Regions from separate parts of the Homo sapiens genome. Here region 2 is linked to region 1. The links are contacts of gene promoters, found by promoter capture Hi-C in blood cells and fetal thymus (Javierre and others, 2016). All regions are on one chromosome and are shown on one strand. Each heading gives the region's core, a stretch centred on a gene start or on the middle of the fragment in contact. The rest is flanking DNA. Distances are from core to core; before and after follow the strand shown.

What was found. Contacts are between HindIII fragments. The CHiCAGO score rates a contact against its expected background, and 5 or more counts as called.
Region 2: a contact is called between a fragment that was not itself captured here and the fragment with the promoter of MICAL3 in region 1, in 3 of 17 cell types (erythroblasts, megakaryocytes and naive CD4 T cells). The highest score is 6.0, in erythroblasts.

The regions. Positions count from the first base shown.
Region 1 is chr22:18,023,194-18,025,893 of GRCh38, reverse strand. MICAL3 (microtubule associated monooxygenase, calponin and LIM domain containing 3) reads left to right here and starts at 1,333. Exons shown (of 32, transcript NM_015241.3): 1 at 1,333-1,613. RefSeq lists a silencer at 1,196-1,605. The HindIII fragment of the contact is 4,064 bases long and covers 39-2,700 here.
Region 2 is chr22:17,761,832-17,764,531 of GRCh38, reverse strand. The region is part of intron 1 of BID (BH3 interacting domain death agonist); the gene reads left to right. MIR3198-1 (microRNA 3198-1) reads left to right here and starts at 273; the gene lies at 273-352. The HindIII fragment of the contact is 2,534 bases long and covers 1-2,517 here.

The DNA.
Region 1 (2,700 bases), core at 84-2,583:
GGAATTGCAGCTTTACCACTTATCTCGCTGCATAAGCTTCCACAAGCAAGTTACTTACTGTTTGTGCTTTTAGGTTCTTAATATGTAAAACAATGTTTTACATTAAAAATTAAATGAAATAGCTCCTGAAAAGCCCAGTCACATTGTCAGAGCTCAGTAAAAATGTGTTCCCTTATTCTAGTACTGGGGCAGAACACCTGCAGGTTTGTAGGTGGGGAGACAGTGGACAGAGTGGCTGGGTGATGAAGTGGGGCTCTAGAGGATGAGCAGAGATTGCCTCTGAGCCGACACCCTGGCCCTGTCAGTTCCCGTCCTCACATGATGGACATGAAGGGAACACGAATGAAGCAGATGATGATACGGTTAAGTAAATACCACCTGGGACCAGAGAGAGCCCTTCTCAAGGAGTCGCCAGCCCAGAGTCGGCCCTCTTCTGAGCTGGCCGGCTGGAGTCAATCTGCTTTGGACAACACAGCTTCAGATGGAGATAATACTGAGGCCAATGATCCTTGAAGACAAAATAATCTCTGGGCTTCTTTCTGCTCTGATTATAATGTTGCAATTATACTGAGCAGATGCTGATAGGAATTTGGTCAAATCCATCCCGTCTTCCATCTAACTTATTTTAGTGCCTGGTGGATTTCTGTCCAGCTCCACGGGCTGTGGCAATGCCGGGGCTGGCTGGAAGTGTGGAAGGGGCTGGCTGGAAGTGTGGAAGAGGCTGCCCGGGCTCCGGCATCAAGAGGTTTTCTCCGGTGGGGAGGAGTGCGCGATCTGATCCTTGGAGCGCTTGCAACTGTAGCCCTCCCCCAGGGCTCTGCGCTGATCTCCAGGGTCATCATCATAGTAACAGTAAGAACTTCATTTTATAGCATTTTTCAATCTGTAAGACAACGTCGTGTCCTTTATACCGTTGAAATTTCAATTTCACGACTACTCAGATGTTACGCGACTTGCTCAGTATCCAACACTTGGTTCCTTCACTGGCTCCCGGAGACCTGGGTGCTGAAGCCACTGCAAGGAGGTGTGTGCTCGAACACACAGCGAACACCGACTGCGTGGTTAGCAGGATTCGCTGGGGAAGAGGCCTCAGGAGAGTGCTGGAATTTCCAACCTTCGAGGTGCTAGTAACGTGTGTCGAGGAAGGGGTTGGAGAAGGGGAGAAAATGAAAAGAAGGGGAGAAAATGAAAAGATGGGGAGGAGGAGAAATGGTTTGGGTTTGGTTTTGGCTTGAGCCTCACCCAAGCGTCCCACGCCGCAGCTCCGCGGCCTCCTGGGGGCGCCCGCTCGCGTTGCCACGGCGCTCGCGCGGAGCCGCAGCCCGCCCAGCCAGCAGCGCGCGCTCCTGCAGCCCCGGCGGAGTCCCGGCGGGGAGCGCCCGCGTAGGCAGGCACCCGGGGCAGCCCTCCGTCCTCGCCGCGCGGCCTGAGAACCCCTGGGCCCTGGGCGAGGGGGCTGGGCTGTGCAGCCCCCGAGGCTAACTGGGCGGGATCGCAGCTGCAGGGGTTGTGCGAGCAGCCACGGCGGCACCTGTGCCCTGCGGGCACCCACCCTGCCCCTGCCGAGGCAGGCGCCCACCGCCGGCGGTGATGCGGCTGTGAAGCCCTAGTCGGTGAGTACCCTCCAGTCCCCCTGTGGGCGAGCGAATCTAAATGACAAGGTTATGTGTTTTGCTGGATGTCTTCTAAGAATCATTTATTTAGATTGCTTATGGTGGGGAAGCGTTTCCTTTGTGACATCTTTGTGTTTCTCGGATCTATTTCGTTTCCCTCTAAACGCAGCCCTCTCTCCCCTAGTGGGAAAGACACCCAGTATCCGTGTCTCGATCATCGCACGACACCCACCAGTGCGGATGCCACGTACCACACACTCCCCAGAGCCTGCCAGAGAGCAGGGCTGTCTCCCAGCCACGTCCACCCCATTTTCATTGTGCTTCTATCCCGCAGGCAAAGGAAGAGCGTACCCAGGCACCCCCGAGGTAGGCCAGGTGTCAGGACAGCCAGCAGGCCCTTGGCGAAGCCGGGTCCGCTCTGGCTAGCTCAGCGCGGTGAACCCATGAGCTCATTAGGAGCAGCGGCTGCTTTGCGCGGGGAACGCCGGTTTCCCTGCGGCAGAGGGGCCCTGCACCCGCCCGCGGCGCGCGGTGGTGGCCCAGGACCAGTGGCGCACACGCTTGCGCTCCCAGGCTGCAGGGCGCGCTGCGCCGGCGCAGCTCCCGGGCGTGTGCAACAAAAGGACGGCCAAGTTCATTCCCTCCTGGAAGCAGAGGGCGGGGCCGCATGACTTCTGGAGGCTGCATGTGTCTTAGAATCAAATGGTTATGACTCCATAGCAAAATGCTTTCTGTGTGTCAAGTCCTCTCCGTGCCTGCCAACCCCTTCCCTCCTCTCTCCTCCCTAAAATGCTTTCTTATTGGTCTGGCACTGTGATCAACTATTTAGAATTTTCATTGTAAAGAAATGAAAAAAGGGTGAAACCGAGACAAGCTGTAGGCTGAAAGGCTGGGCCCTGTGGTGCTATTCATTAGCTCTCAGGCCTGGCTGCTGGGGAGATTTTTAGAAATCCTGCTACCTGGGTCCAATCCCTGGAGATTCTGACTTAATTGGTCTGGGATATGGCCCAAACACTGGGATTTTTTAAATTTTCTTTTTGTGGGGAGGAGTGGTGGTGGGAAAATTTGGAGTGCATACTGGATTTTT
Region 2 (2,700 bases), core at 1-2,500, 260 kb after region 1:
TTCAGCATCTGTGATCTCTTAGTGTCTGCAGTCTTAACCTAACCTTGACCTTTTTTCCCTCTGGTTTGAGAAAAGTTTGGACACTATTTCTACTTGCCCAGGTGTGGGCTCAAGAGCCTTACTCTTTCCATCTCAGTGTAGGGGCACAGCCAACGCCTCTTCCCAATAGGGCTCTTTCTCCTTTCCCTCTCCTTGGCCCTAGATTTGTAATCCATGAAAAAGCACAAGGTCCTGGCTGCTTGCAGTCACATTCTGGTTCTCTGTGTTTTGTGGACTGTGCTCTCACTGTTCACCCAGCACTAGCAGTACCAGACGGTTCTGTGGAGTCCTGGGGAATGGAGAGAGCACAGTCTGACGCCCTGCCAAGTAGCCAGGAGTTGACTTGCCCATGGTCCGCTGGCTTTCCCACCACTTCCTACAGGATGGGATCTAAGAGACTCAGTAGCTGGGTTTCTTTCAGCACGCTGTACTGTCCCAAGTAGCAAACAAATCACTCTGTAGCCAGATTTCTGAATGGAAATGAGAAATTGAATTCTCCATGGACTTTTAGGTTTATGGGGGAGTTTTGGTTGTGTTTCCTGGTTTTATTTCAGCCAAACATGTCTGCTTTTGATTTTTTTTTTTTTTAAATTATAAGTGGTCTATATATATGTTCACCTTGTAAATGTCAGTGTTTAAAAAGAGTAAGCATTTATGTGTTTCCATAACTGACATCTGATACAGACCTCATTCTCTCCCCCTCTTCTACCCTCCTCTTTTCCCTCTTTTCATACTCTTGTATTGGTTCTAATAAATGGTTGCTTTTCAAAAAAAAAAAAAAAGTATGTTTTCATGTTGAGGAAGCATAGAAGGGCGCGAGTGGCTGTGAAGGCTATGGTGTGTGTGCCCACAGGCGTCTGCTAAACATGTGTCTGGAGACAGCTCTCAACTGTCAGCCTGCGGTTCTCTGTAAAATGGAAGTCAGTTACTTTGTTAAAAGTTATAATAAGGCCAGGCACGGTGGTTCACGCCTGTAATCCCAGCACTTTGGGAGACCAAGGCGGGCGGATCACCTGAGGTCAGAAGTTCGAGACCAGCTTGACCAGCACGGAGGAACCCGGTCTCTACTAAAAATACAAAAATTAGCCAGGTGTGGTGGCGGTCACCTGTAATCCCAGCTACTTGGGAGGCTGAGGCAGGAGAATCACTTGAACCCAGGAGACGAAGGTTGCAGTGAGCCAAGATTGTGCCACTGCACTCCAGCCTGGATGACAGAGCCAGACTATGTCTCAAAAAAAAAAAAGTTATAATTAATACACATGATGGAGACAAACAGCTATGTAAATGCTTTTATTTTTCAAAGAAAAAATACAGGTGGCCAGGCGAAGTTTCTCACGCCTGTAATGCCAGCACTTTGGGAGGCTGAGGCGGGTGGATCGCCTAAGGTCAGGAGTTTGAGACCAGCCAGGCTAACATGGTGAAACCTCATCTCTACTAAAAATACAAAAATTAGCCGGATGAGGTGGTGCATGCCTGTAGTCCCAGCTACTCGGGAGGCTGAGGCAGGAGAATCGCTTGAGCCTGGGAGGCGGAGGATGTAATGAGGCAAGATCACGCCATTGCACTCCAGCCTGGGTGACAGAGTGAGACTCCGTCTTAAAAAAACAAACAAACAAACAGGTTTTGTTTTTTTTCCTCAAAGCAGCACTTCTCAAACTTTTTGGTCTCTAGATCCCTTTATATATAAAAATTATTGAGGAACCAAAAAGCGTTTGATTAAGTAGGCTTTTATCCCTATATTCTGTGTTAGAATTAAAACTGAGAAATTTTAAAAATAGGCCAGTCACAGTGGTCCTTACCTGTAATCCCAGCACTTTGGGAAGCTGAGGCAGGAGGATCACTTGAGCCCAGGAGTTTGAGGCTGTAGTGGGCCATGATCGTGCTACTGCACTCTAGCCTGCTTGACAGAGTGAGACCCTGTCTCCAAAAAAAAAAAAGTGTTCATTCATTTGAAATTTGTGAAATTGTTTAATTAAATTAATTAATTAATTAATTTTGAGACAGAGTCTTGCTCTGTTGACCAGGCTGGAGTGCAGTGGCCTGATCTTGGCTCACTGCAACCTCTGCCTTCTGGGTTCAAGCAATTCTTCTGCCTCAGCCTCCCGAGTAGCTGGGTTACAGGTGCACGCCATCATGCCCGGCTAATTTTTGTATTTTTAGTAGAGACGGGATTTCACCATATTGGTCAGGCTGGTCTCAAACTCCTGACCTCAGGTGATCCACCCGCCTCGGCCTCCCAAAGTTCTGGGATTACGAGCGTGAGCCACCTCGCCTGGCCAACGTAACTATTTTATAAAACAAAACATTTCTATTGAGAAGAACAGCATTGCGTCAGTGTTTCTGCAGATCTCCTGGGTGTCTGACTGAATAGAGGATACCTGGATTCTCGGTTGTTGCAGTATCTCTTTCGCTCAGCCCCTGGGAAAGTCCACTGTACCCTCATGAGAGAATGACAGAAGAAACTGTGTTATGGAAGCTTTTCAACCTCACAGATTCTCTGAAAAGGGCCTCAGGCACCCTAGGATATCCTGGTCCACACTCTCTCCTAAAGCGATTTACCAGTGTTTTCCAGAATATGGTAAAAATGACAAAAAACATAGTGAAGGGCAAAACTAGGTATGTGCCTTTTATCATCATGGTACCTGAGTCTGAAAAGCAGCA